Regions from separate parts of the Homo sapiens genome. Here region 1 is linked to region 2. The links are contacts of gene promoters, found by promoter capture Hi-C in blood cells and fetal thymus (Javierre and others, 2016). All regions are on one chromosome and are shown on one strand. Each heading gives the region's core, a stretch centred on a gene start or on the middle of the fragment in contact. The rest is flanking DNA. Distances are from core to core; before and after follow the strand shown.

Region 1 (6,398 bases), core at 1,702-4,201, 96 kb after region 2:
CTTCAGCCTTCACCTGTGCCACAAGGAGCCCTGTCCTCACCCCACTGTCTCCTTAGACCAGAATATTCCATTTCTTCCTGGGCATGGCCGCCCTAGTATTCTATGAACAGATCAAACTCAATGTATCCCAACCTGAAATCACCTTTCCTCAAAACCAGCTGCTTCAGCATCCCCATCACTGTGAAGCATCTGCCTATTGCCCACGCCACAGTCTGCCAAGGGGGCATCCTACTTCATTCCTGCCCACTGTCCACCAGCCAGACTTGTCCATACCTCTCCATCTCACACCTGTCTCCCTGTCCCTGCCTGGATCCAGCCCTCTTTGGGTCCTTCCTGGAAAGGTGTTGGGAACTCCTTTCCCATGGCCCTGCGTCTGGTTTACTCCCATGCCTGTCTTCCACCTTCTGCCAGTGACCTGAAATAGACATCTGTACATCTGCCTCTTCTGCTCAAGATCCCTCCACAGTTCCCCATGGTCCATGCATGGCATCCCCAGTTATCCCAATCCGACCACCCTGTCCTACCACCCTCCCCCTGGTACTTCATGCTCCAGCCAAACTACTTAGAGTTCTCTAAATCTGTGCCCTTGCATGTGCTGCCATTCTGCCTGGAGCGCCCTACCCTGTGCCAGTCCGGCAGATCCCAGTTGTCCTCCAAGGCTGGGCTTAGGCACAGGTTTCTGTATGAGACCTTCCCTCACTCCCAGCCTACCTTAGACGTGCCATCCATGGCCAGGCACGGTGGCTCATGCCTGTAATCCCAGCACTTTGGGAGGCCGAGGTGGGTGATCACAAGGTCAGGAGTTCAAGACCAACCTGGCCAAGATGATGAAACCCCATCCCTACTAGAAATACAAAAAATTAGCCCGGCATGGTGGCGGGTGCCTGTAATCCCAGCTACTTGGGAGGCTGAGGCAGAGAATTGCTTGAACCCAGGAGGTGGAAATTGCAGTAAACCAAGATCACGCCACTGTACTCCAGCCTGGGTGGCAGAGCGAGACTCTGTCTTTAAAAAAAAAAAGTGCCATCACATGGGAGGGATGATTATTATTATTAATAATTAAGAAGTTAATCCAATTTAAGTTTCAGTTAGAGACATGAAACCTCTCATTTTGTCCTGAGTAGAAAAAGACACTAGATCAGAATCTTTCATCTACTGGAAAACCATCACATTATAATGTTGCCCAGATTTCAAGCTTCAGGGTTTCATGTGTGACCCTGGCAAGCCGCTTCCCTCTCCAGGCCTCAGCCCCCTCCTTTGTGAATACCCTTTGATCCTGTTCTCTTGTGGGGACATGTCTCAGCCTCCACCCATCCTTCTGTGCTAAACTGTTACTGCCACTTGCACTAACAAGTGGACTTTCTGGGGGAGTGGGAATCAAAGCAGTCATGCTCCGTGGCACCCCGGCCCTGGGCTCTCCACCCCTGAGCCCTGACAGTGCAGTGCTGATCACATGCTGTTTCTTCTGTCCTGACTGCCTTTCTCATGGGGGCTGGTCCTTGTTTCTCTCGACACAGCCCCCACTTCACTTCCTCTGTAAGCCCCCTCCTCTCTGCCCCAGCCACCCCTGGCAGGAGGAGCCCCTCCCTCCTCCATGGCCCCATAACTCTTGGTTCTTCCTGTTTCTAGGGCTCTACAGATCATGCTGTAAACTTGTTGGCTGCTTACGTACCTATCTTGCAGGGATTTGGGAGGGTCCTTGTGGGTGGCACAACATCTTATATTTATATCCTTTGGCCAGCACAGCACCTGGCACCAGGAGGGCCCAGTACCCTTGCCACATACCACATACCTGAACATCACCCATGTCTACCCTGGGATATTCCCCCTTGCCTTGCATGGACCTAGTCAGGTGCCTCTTGCTTTTTTTTTTTTTTTTTTTTGAGATGGAGTCTCGCTCTGTCACCCAGGCTGGAGTACAGTGGTGTGATCTCAGCTCCCTGCAAACTCTGCCTCCCGGGTTCAAGTGATTCTTCTGCCTCAGCCTCCCGAGTAGCTGGGATTACAGGCCACCATGCCCTGCTAATTTTTGTTTTTGCTGTTGTTGTTTTTAGTAGAGATGCGGTTTCACCGTGTTGGCCAGACTGGTCTCGAACCGACCTCAAATAATCCACTACCCTCAGCCTCCCAAAGTGCTGGGATTACAGGCGTGAGCCGCTGAGCCCTGCTGCCTGTTGCTTTTTGAGTCACTTTCTCAAGCATCACCTCATCTGCTTCCCTGAACAGTCCAGTGGGGTTGGCAAGGCAGATCAGGTTTTATCCATTTTAGAGATGAAGACTCTGGGGTCTAGACAGGGGGAGTAACTTCCCCAAGCTTCCTTCACCAGGGCCATGCTGGTTACCTGGCCCCACAATTGGGAGTGGGAAGACAGAGAAGCCTCTGGCCCTGCCCTGGCGGAGTTAGGTGCTCTGGCCCTGGGTTCCCTGCACCCTGCTCCACAGCACTGGCAGGCCAAGCAGCAGGAAGACGTTGAGACAGATGTTGAGCCTTTAGGGCCCCTTCCTGCCCACTGTGCCAAAGAGTATGGGCTACAGGAGGGAGATTCTGATGGAGGGTGGTTCTGAAGGGCCTGGAGACAGTGAGAGGAGCCACACGCCGGATCTCTGTGCCGCTCAAAGGACACAGGAAGAGAACAGCCCCACCCCTACCCTGCCACCCACAGCCAGCACATCCAGCCATGTCCCCAGAGCTCTATCCCAGGCAGCAGGCCCCGGCCTAGAAGGATGTCCGAGGTTGGGGGAGGTCACGGTCAAAGGACCCTCATAAGGGAGCATGGAGTCAGACCCTGAAGAGACTCCCACCCCTCTGGCTGGCAGGAAAGAATGACATCTTTGGGGAACCCGTCAGCCTCCATGCCCAGCCAGGCAAGTCCAGTGCAGACGTGCGGGCTCTGACCTACTGCGACCTGCACAAGATCCAGCGGGCAGATCTGCTGGAGGTGCTGGACATGTACCCGGCCTTTGCGGAGAGCTTCTGGAGTAAGCTGGAGGTCACCTTCAACCTGCGGGACGTGAGTCAGGGCCAGGTGGGCCAGGGTGGGTGGAAATGCCCAGGCAGCCTGCCTGGCCTGAGGGCACCCATCTGACCAACACCCTTCCTTTCAACCCCATCCTGCAACCTTTGCCATAATTTCTTTTGTGCCTACCATGGCTGGCGTCATGCTAAGTATGAGGATAGCTACTATTTATTAAGCAGTAGGGTGCTAAGGGTGGGGCTTCTTTTACATGATCTTCTTGCAAATGGTATTATTATCCCCAATTTTCAGATGAGGAAACTGAGGATTAGAGACAATAAATAAATTGGCCAAAGCCATTCAGCTAGTCAACGGCAGAGCCAAAATGTGAATTTAATTTGTCTGACTCCAAAGCCCAGGCATTCCTACTACATCATACCAAGCTGAAAAAGGGGGTGCCTTCTGTCCAGAGGGCTCACAGTGCCAGACACAGGGGCTGCCAAGAGGTGACAAAGCTGTCTCTTCTCATGCTCATCCCTCAGTAGAGGAGATTTTGACAACTCAAGAAAAATAAAGAGCCACAAAGTAAAACAGCCAAAGTCACGAAGGTATAAAGGAGAAGCCATGTGGAGCTCAAGCTTGCTAAGGAGTGGGACAGCCAGGACCGACCTGGGAATGCCCAGAGCGGGGTATCACGGAGGAGGAAACTAATGGGAAGAAGGGAGTGTGCATCTGGCAGGGAAACACAGAGCCCGGGCTATTTCTTCCCTGGTGCCCCGCCCCTCCACCTTGGGGGAGGGCCCTGCTGGCGTAGGCCCTGTGCCCAGCTTCCTGAGCATAGAGCTGGGTGGGCTTTCTGGCTGTGGACAGCCCTCCCCACACCATCCCCTCTCCCCCTCCTCAGTTTCTCCCCTCCCTCCCGCGATCTGCACAGGAGACTGACAGGTTAGGACTCTGCCCTCGGCCCCCAGCCATCAGGTGGCCAGAATGCCCAGCAGCTGGGCACCAGGACAGGAGGGGTGTGGTCTCTGCAGCCTGGGCCACCTGCAGGAAGTCGTCCAGGGCATCGCTGCTGTGCCCAGCTGCTTGTCATTCTTTCACCTAGTTGTGACAGCACCATGGGGTCAGGGCAGGGAAGAACAAAGAGGCCCCATCCCAGCTTTGGTTCCTGTTATTTCACCCTCTTGCTTCCCATAAGGCAGCCGGGGGTCTCCACTCATCCCCCCGACAGGCTCCTGGCAGCCAAGACCACCAAGGTTTCTTTCTCAGTGACAACCAGTCAGGTGAGCAAAGCCAGCCCCCACCCCCACCAGCCTGTAGCCCCTGCCCAGCCTCCTACCCCTCCCATGTCCTCTCCATCCTGCCTCCCCAGCGCCACCCCACTCCATGAGTGGAGAGGGGCTCCCTCTCTAGACCCAGAGCTGGAGCCTTGGCCCTCCTTCCTCCCCAGTCTCCCAGTCCTGATGGTCTGTGTCCTCAGAGGCAGAGTGAGGGCTCTGTGGTTCAAATGCAACCCCCAGGGGTGTATGGAGACTAGCCAGCCCCCTGAGGTTCCACACCAAGGCATCAGGGGGGCCACTGGGCTGCAGCTCCCTGGGCAGTGAAACCAGTGCTAAAAGTCCTCACCCTGCCAGGGTCTCCCCATGAGCTGGGGCCCCAGTTCCCCTCTAAGGGCTACAGCCTCCTGGGTCCTGGGAGCCAGAACTCCATGGGGGCAGGACCTTGTGCTCCAGGGCACCCAGGTAAGGAGAGCCACTCCTCACACCCTGTGTCCCCAGGGCAGGTAGGGGGTGGGGGACAGGCTCTATTGAGAAGGGTCAGGCCTGTGGAACCAGCTAGGCCCAGCTGAGACTTCCCTTTCCCTCCTGCAGATGCAGCCCCTCCCCTGAGCATCTCAGATGCATCTGGCCTCTGGCCTGAGCTACTGCAGGAAATGCCCCCAAGGCACAGCCCCCAAAGCCCTCAGGAAGACCCAGATTGCTGGCCTCTGAAGCTGGGCTCCAGGCTAGAGCAGCTCCAGGCCCAGATGAACAGGTGTGTGTGCTGTGGTCAGGGCTGGGGGCTGGTCATGGGTAGCCCCTCCTAGTGGCTCAGACACATCACAGGGTGCCAGGTGGGTTTTAGAATGGGGCAGGCCATTTAGCTGCAGGTCTCCCCATACCTGTCATTAAGCACAATTCCCCCAATGACTTCCCCTAGCAAACTCTGGAACATGCCAAGGGAGCTTCTCGGGGGAGGGGCACAACCATGTGCAGAAACAAATTCCATAGGTCCTGGGAAAGGGAGTGTGTCCTGTGGATGGCAGGGCTATGGTGGCAGAGCGAGGGCTTAGAGGCAGAACAGTCCAGGTTCAAATTCTGGCTCTGTTCCCTACCAGCAAGAGTGTGGGCAAGTTACTAAACAGCTCTGAACCTAGTTTGCCCTTTTGTGAAATGGGGATAATTGGAACATCCACATCAAAGCATCTTGGGGACTGAATCTTGTATGCTTGGTGCCTGCTCACTGGTGTTGTTAAGAGTCAGGGGTGTACCAGGGGGATTCTGGGCCGGGGCTGTGGATCCCAGTAAGGAAATAGCTTCAGGTAGGCCCCAGGCCGCCATTCCATCTAGCAGGAACAGCACGCAGGCTACAAGATTGACAGCTGCCCTCAGGAACTACTTTTGCCAGCCCTGACCCTGACTGTGGGGTTCTGTCTGGCAGGCTGGAGTCCCGCGTGTCCTCAGACCTCAGCCGCATCTTGCAGCTCCTCCAGAAGCCCATGCCCCAGGGCCACGCCAGCTACATTCTGGAAGCCCCTGCCTCCAATGACCTGGCCTTGGTTCCTATAGCCTCGGAGACGACGAGTCCAGGGCCCAGGCTGCCCCAGGGCTTTCTGCCTCCTGCACAGGTAAGAGGTGAGGGGATTCCCAGGGGCTTACCTGCGAGCAGCTGCATGCCTTCCCTACCCTGACTTGTTCACAGTGCAGCATCAGGCCCAGAGCCTCTGTGGCCCCAGAGCAGCCAGGGCTTCTGCTTACCTCCTTTATGATCAGAGTCATGATAGGGTTAGCCTGGGCAAGGTGCTGGCAAAGCCCAGAATGTGACTCCAGAGCCTGCAGCTGGGGCCAGGGCAGCAGGACCCTGAGGTGTGGGAAGGGCAGGTACAATTTTTGCCTGATCCCATCCCTGAAATCAGGGTGGATTAACCCGCAGCCTGGCCTGGGGTGCATCCCTCTTTCTTGCTCCTCCCAGACCCCAAGCTATGGAGACTTGGATGACTGTAGTCCAAAGCACAGGAACTCCTCCCCCAGGATGCCTCACCTGGCTGTGGCAACGGACAAAACTCTGGCACCATCCTCAGAACAGGAACAGCCTGAGGGGCTCTGGCCACCCCTAGCCTCACCTCTACATCCCCTGGAAGTACAAGGACTCATCTGTGGTCCCTGCTTCTCCTCCCTCCCTGAA
Region 2 (6,198 bases), core at 2,644-5,143:
CTCCCTAGGAAGCAAGGCTTTGAATCGTGGCCCTCATTTCCCAGTCTTGACAGCAAGAATACTCTCTCGCTCTTCCCTCCTCACTGGGCAGCCCTGGGACACCGGCTGTTCTTGGGCCCTCTGTGTTCTCAGAGCAGAACTGTGGGCAGCAGCTTCAAGGCCTGGAAGCTGCCACTCCCCACCCCCAAGGGCTCCACTGCCCTGCAGACCAGAACCTTGCAACCAGAGGGAGCTCACGTAGCCCCTCACACAGTCACTTGCCTTCCTCTGTGACAGCTCAGGATGAGGGTGACAGATCTCTGGCAGTTTCTGGATCTTAGAGCTGTGAGAGTCACCCTCGTCCCCACCCACTCACCCTACCTGCAGCCAGAATCCACTTAATGCAATCAGCGCATTAGGGACAGCATGACCCGCAGATCTTCACTGAGCCAAGCATCGCTCTCCCTCCCGGTGCCCACTGCGTTTTATTAAAAGGCAACCAAGACTAATCTCATTATTGGGGACCAGACACTGCACATGGTGCACAGCCTCGGGGGCGGAAGGCGGAGCAGGGGAGGCTGGGAAGCGGGCAGCCTGGGCTGGCTACAGCCCTCCTTATCAACAGCAGAGTTTGAATTGAGTTAGGAAAGACTGTGACTGCGGAAAGGCCGATATCTCTTCTTGATGGGTGAAGGGGAAAACAGCTCAATTGCCCTAGAGCGTCCTAGCATGTGATGAAGGAGAAAGCAAAGTGTGGTGTGAGCTATTAGGGTACTTTCTTAGCACCCCAGTAGCCCCAGGAAGAAGGGGCTTCCCAGGCAGTGCTCCCCATCCCATGCCAGTCCTCCTGCATCCTCCCCACGCTTGTACCAGCATGGCACTAAGCCCTGGTGCATGCAGAGACACCAGGCCCTGACCAAAGGGTAAGAGAGAAGGCATTACAGGAGGGTGAACAAGCCGCAGGGGCTGCATTTCCATTTATCCTAGGGCGGCTGTCCTGGCCCAGGCAGCCCAGGGACCCGGGGTATCCAGGCTGCTTGGACCAGGTACCAAGGAACTAGGTACCCAGGAAGCAGCAGAGCCTGAAGTCAAACACTGAGCTCCTTTCTCCCACAAGACAGAGGGCTCCCAATGCTTACAAACCAAAATGTTTCCATTTCCATGAAAATCAGAAGAAAAAAATGAACATTTAGGGTTGAGGAAAATGTTGCAATTTTTTAAAACTTATTTTAATTAATTTTTTTGTTGTTGTTGTTAACAGTGTCTACCTCTGTCACCCAGGCTGGAATACGATGGCATGATCATAGCTCACAGCAGCCTCGAACTCCTGGGCTCGAGGGATCCTCCCACCTCAGCCTCTCAAGTAGCTGGAACTACAGCTATGCTGAAATGCCCAGTTAATTTTTTCTTTTTTTGGAGAGATAGGGTCTCACTATGTTGTGCAGGCTAGTCTCAAACTCCTGGTCTCAAGCAGTCCTCCTGCCCCAGCCTCCCAAAGCTCTGGGATTACAGACAGACATGAGCCAGCCCTAAAATGTTTTGTTTTTAAAATTAATTGTAATCCAGTCTGGACTATACTTGTATTTATACCAATGCAGTTGTAAAATATAATTTTTATTAATTTTTTTTTTTTTGAGGCTGGAGTGCAATGGCAAGATCTCGGGTCACCGCAACCTCTGCCTTCCGGGTCCAAGCAATTCTCCTGCCTCAGACTCCCCGAGTCTGGGATTACAGGCGTGCTCCACGATGCCTGGCTAATTTTTTGTATCTTTTGTAGAGACGCGCTTTCACCACTGCGCCGGGCCAATTGTTATTATTTTTTTTATGGAAGACGGGGCCCGTGAAGGCCAGAGGGCCAACGGCCCATGAAAGGCCCAGCGCAGCCCAGGTTAGAGAGATGTGATTTCAAAACAGACTCATTATTTATAACCATCAGCTCCTGGACAAGCCAAGTCCCTTCTCCAAGCCTGCTTCCTAATCTATAAAGTGGAGGATATCTGGAGCTACCTTATTGAACACAGAAGGAGTAAGTGGATAAAGGTGTGCCAGCGCCCAGCACAGTGCCTGCCACAAAGTAGGCATTCCATCAAAGACCAATCTTACAAAAACGAAATCTGGTCCTAAGAGCACCTTAGAAAGAGTCACACTGCTGACACATGAGGTTTGGGGCCACAGAGAGCCAGATGGCAGCCGTCTCTAATAAATCTACACTCCATTGCTGTCCACCATTAGCCCCTGCACACCAAGCAGAAGCTCCTGGGGCTGGAAGAACACAGGATGGTCTGCTTTTAATCTGTGACATTGTATATTCCCAAAATTCATTTATGAATTGTTCAGACAGTAGAGTGCTTTTTCCCAGTGAAGCTACGCTTTCAGAGGGGGTTAATTTCTCATTCCCCTCCACCAATGCCATCTAATGCCACTGAACCATCCCAGTATTAGCAGGAGCCCAAGCTCTGCCTGCCAAGGAAAAGTGGTGAGGGCAGAAAAGTAGTAGGACAAGGCTGGGCACGGTGGCTCACGTCTGTAATCCTAGCACTTTGGGATGCCAAGGCGGGCAGATCACTTGAGGTTAGGAGTTCGAGACCAGCCTGGCCAACATGGTGAAACCCCGTCTCTCCTAAAAATGCAAAAATTAGCTGCGTGTTGTGGCACACACCTGTAATCCCAGCTACTAGGGAGGCTGGAACAGGAGAATCGCTTGAACCCGGAAGATGGAGGTTGCAGTGAGCTGATATTGCCCTCTGCACTCCAGCCTCCTGGCAACAGAGCAAGACTCCATCTCAAAAAAAAAAGAAGGAAGGAAAGTAAGGAAAGCAAGAAAGCAATAAAGCAAGAAAGAAAAGGAGTGGGACAAGCAGGGTGGTTCCACCTCCAGCTCTAGGAGGCTCCCTCATGCAAGGAGGTGGGGCTGCCACCGCCTCGTATTTTCCTGCCTCCATCAAATTTCACCGGGAGAAATCCAGGCACCTAGAGGAGGTGGCAAAGCTTTTTTTTTTTTTTTTTCATTAGCTATTAAACCAAAGGGGCAGAATCTAGGCGCCCTAGATGTAACTTCATTTACGGAGTCAGAAAATCCACAAAGGCTGCCAAGGTGGAATGAATGAGAGGAGGACGACCAGAAAGGAGAAGTCTGGGAAGGGGACCCCAGATCCACACGGATGATCCTCGCTCCGTGATACAGTCGGGGACAGGGCAGGGAGGGAGGGAGGGAGGGTGGCCCTGCCATCTCCCAGGTGTCAAGGTGGCGGCAGCTCCGCCCTCAGCGCAGTTGGCACCGGCCTGACCCACCACAGGGCCACCGAGGCCACCGAAGCCATGGGGCTTTCCCACTCGGGAAACTCCCACCCTCGCGCTCAGAAGCTGGGGGCGTCGGGAGACACAGGCGGGGACCTGCGGCTCCACGTTGCAGCCCGGGCCCTGCTCGGGGCAAGAGGCGGTGGCTCCGGTTTCAGATTTCAAGAGGGCAGCCGTGGCAAAGGCTGGTTGGTCCATTTGCACCCTACCTTGCTCTAGAACGCGGCGCAGGAGCAAAGATCCAAACTCGGGGTCACCAGCAAGCGGGGGTCTCGGTTCTAACTTCAGCAGAGACCCGGCACCCGGGCAGGCCAGGGCAGGGGCCGCCTGGACCGGGAGAGGCTCGGCTCCGAGAGGGCGGGCGAGCCCTGCAGCCCTCGGGCCCAGGGTGCGGGTCGGCGCCGCAGTCCAGTGCGCGGCCGCAAGGGGCAGGTGCGAGGCCGGCTGCTACTCGGGAGCCCCGCGCTGTCCCTCCCTGCGCAGTCAGGGCTCACCTGGGCCGCCCCCGCCCCGCACCCCTGCGCGCTCCGCTCCCACCCCCAGCCCGGCCTCCTACCTTGCCTACCCGAGCGTCCCTTCAGCCTCCCCGCGCCGCGCCCGGGTCGCTTGGCCGGTTCTGCGGGCCGTGGCGCGACGGCGTCGCCATGGCAACCGGGCGGCGGGCTGGGCGGTGTCTCCGGGACCGGAAGTGGCGTACGCGGCCCCCGGGGCTGCCCCGCACGTGCCAGGTCCCCGCGGTTGCGGCCACGCTCGGGACCGGGCCCTGCCAGCTCCGGGCCCGCACGTGGGCGAACCGCGGCCACCGTGAGCCCGGCCTCGCGACCTCCCTCCGGGGCCCCCATGATCGGGGGTGCGTGGGATCTGCGGCCTGCGGGGGTGGAGGGCCGGGAGCTCCCCCGGGCCTGCCTCGAGGGCCGCGGGATTCGTCCTTGCGAGCCCCGACTGCGCACGGAAGGACCTGGGGTCGGCCAGGCCTGGGGGATGGGACGGGCCCCGAGGAGAGCGGGTGCCAGGGGCGAGACCCGCCGCCCTTCCCCGGCTTGGTCCCGCGCTTCCTGATTTTCTCGCTCCACGCCTCCCATTCTGCCCTCCACCTTCTTCCCTGCCCCGCCCTCGCCCTGCCCGGGCCCAGGAGGCCACTAGATGTCAGACCCGGTTCGGGCCTTGGCCACGCCGCCGCTCCGGGAGCCCTGGGGGCACCTCCCCAGCCCCCACGGGGGAGACGATACTGCCGGGAAGGCCCGGACTAGCCCCCGCCCCCGCAGAGTAGCCTTCGGGGAACACCGATTCCACCAGGCTCTCACGAAAGCCGAGAGCTTGCCGTCCGCAGCTTCCCCTGCCCAAAGCGCAGAGAAACGAGGGCGCCGAGGCCAAGACCAAGACCGGGAGCCAGCCCCTTCGGAGCCCGGTCCAGGCCCCCGGTCCAGGAAGTGCTGTGGGTAGATAAGGGGCCCAGCTCAGACTTCCTACAAGCTGGGAAGAAAGGGTTCTTTCCTGTCTGATGCCGGGCCAGATGTAGCAAGCGCCTAGGGGTAGGAGGGAAATGGGGTTTCCTCCCCGCAGAGGGAAACCGGCCTCCATTCAGGAACGCCCTCCCCCACCTGCCCTCCAGGCACCGAGGTTCTGGGAGGCCGGGGGGCAGGGAGACCTGCTTACTTGAATGCGCTTTGTGTATTGCCTGTGTATTGCCACAGGCAGTGGGCAAGATAGGCCCTGGGGATCCAGTACTCGCTTAGTACACAGAGAGCAGTCTCCAGCGCCAGGCGAGACGCACAGGCGTGTCAGCTGCATATGGCACACGGTGGCACATGGCACACCTTCCACGAGCAGACACAAGGGGCCGACACAGCAGGGCCCACCCCCTCAGAGGGACCAAGCTTAAACCCTCCAACAACAGAAAATTTGTAGAGTATCTTTCAGTTGGAGGAAATTAATGGATAATTTAAAGTAAGAAACAGTTTCCTTAGCGTGCTAACAGGCAGAATCCCTGTGGATTGAAGGTGGAACTGAGCCATGTCCTTTGTTTGGTCTGTGGATTTAGACGTGGAGGAGGAGTCCTGACCGGCTGAGCAGGGCTGAGTTCCCTCGTGAGAGCCCCGGGCCTTCAGCCCCTTCCAAAGCCAGGAGAGACTCCTGCTGAGGGGTGATAGGGGCCCTTTGGCTTCCCCCTCACCCCACGGCCCAGCAGCACGGGGCTGCAGGCTTTTCCCTTAGGAGGAAGAGCAGCCGCCTCCCTGCCAGCAGTGTTCTCAAGGGCCTGCTTCAAGTGGGGAGGGGTGGGTGAGGGTGTTCTGACTGAGGGAGAGGCCTGCACACCCGCTGCATGGGGGGGCTCATGGCTACACCTAACCCATTTTAAAGAACAGGCAACGCCACCAAACTGCTCTCTGGCACTAGGGCCCAGAGGCCTTGCCCCAGCTCCCAGATGTCCCAACCCAGGACGACAGACACCCAGACTAACTACCTTGCAACCCTGTTCCTGCTGCCGAAGCTCCTGCCTTGGAAGCCTGAGAAGTGTGCAGTCCTTCAGCTTGGGAAAGGTGGGAAAGGAGAGGACCCCTCCTGCCCTTTCTTGAGTGGCACAAGATGAGTTCCAGGGCCTCCTGAGTTGTGCTAACGCCTGTAATCCCAGCACTTTGGGAGGCCGAGGCGGGCGGATCACCTGAGATCGGGAGCTAGAGACCAGCCTGACCAACGTGGAGAAACCCCATCTCTACTAAAAATACAAAATTAGCCGGGCGGGGTGGCACATGCCTGTAATCCCAGCTACTCCGGAGGCTGAGGCAAGAGAATCACTTGAACCCAGGAGGCAGAGGTTGTGGTGAGCCAAGACCGCGCCATTACACTCCAGCCTGGACAACAAGAGCAAAACTCCGTCTCAAAAAAAAAAAAAAAAAAAAAAGGAAATGCTGACTGTGTTTC

The links. The method cuts DNA at HindIII sites, captures the fragments that hold promoters and counts their contacts. A CHiCAGO score of 5 or more calls a contact.
Region 1: a contact is called between a fragment that was not itself captured here and the fragment with the promoter of CYB561 in region 2, in 2 of 17 cell types (M0 macrophages and M1 macrophages). The highest score is 6.1, in M0 macrophages.

What each region holds. Positions count from the first base shown.
Region 1 is chr17:63,539,424-63,545,821 of GRCh38, forward strand. It overlaps KCNH6 (potassium voltage-gated channel subfamily H member 6), which reads left to right. Exons shown (of 13, transcript NM_001278919.2): 9 at 2,818-3,011; 10 at 4,153-4,237; 11 at 4,826-4,988; 12 at 5,655-5,841; 13 at 6,186-6,398. Among named protein-coding and RNA genes, the nearest start is that of DCAF7, 7.9 kb to the right of the region's middle. The HindIII fragment of the contact is 1,278 bases long and covers 2,313-3,590 here.
Region 2 is chr17:63,442,413-63,448,610 of GRCh38, forward strand. CYB561 (cytochrome b561) reads right to left here and starts at 3,894. Exons shown (of 6, transcript NM_001915.4): 1 at 3,833-3,894. RefSeq lists silencers at 3,591-4,150, 4,321-4,510 and enhancers at 4,480-5,293, 4,651-4,790, 5,294-6,106. The HindIII fragment of the contact is 2,186 bases long and covers 2,966-5,151 here.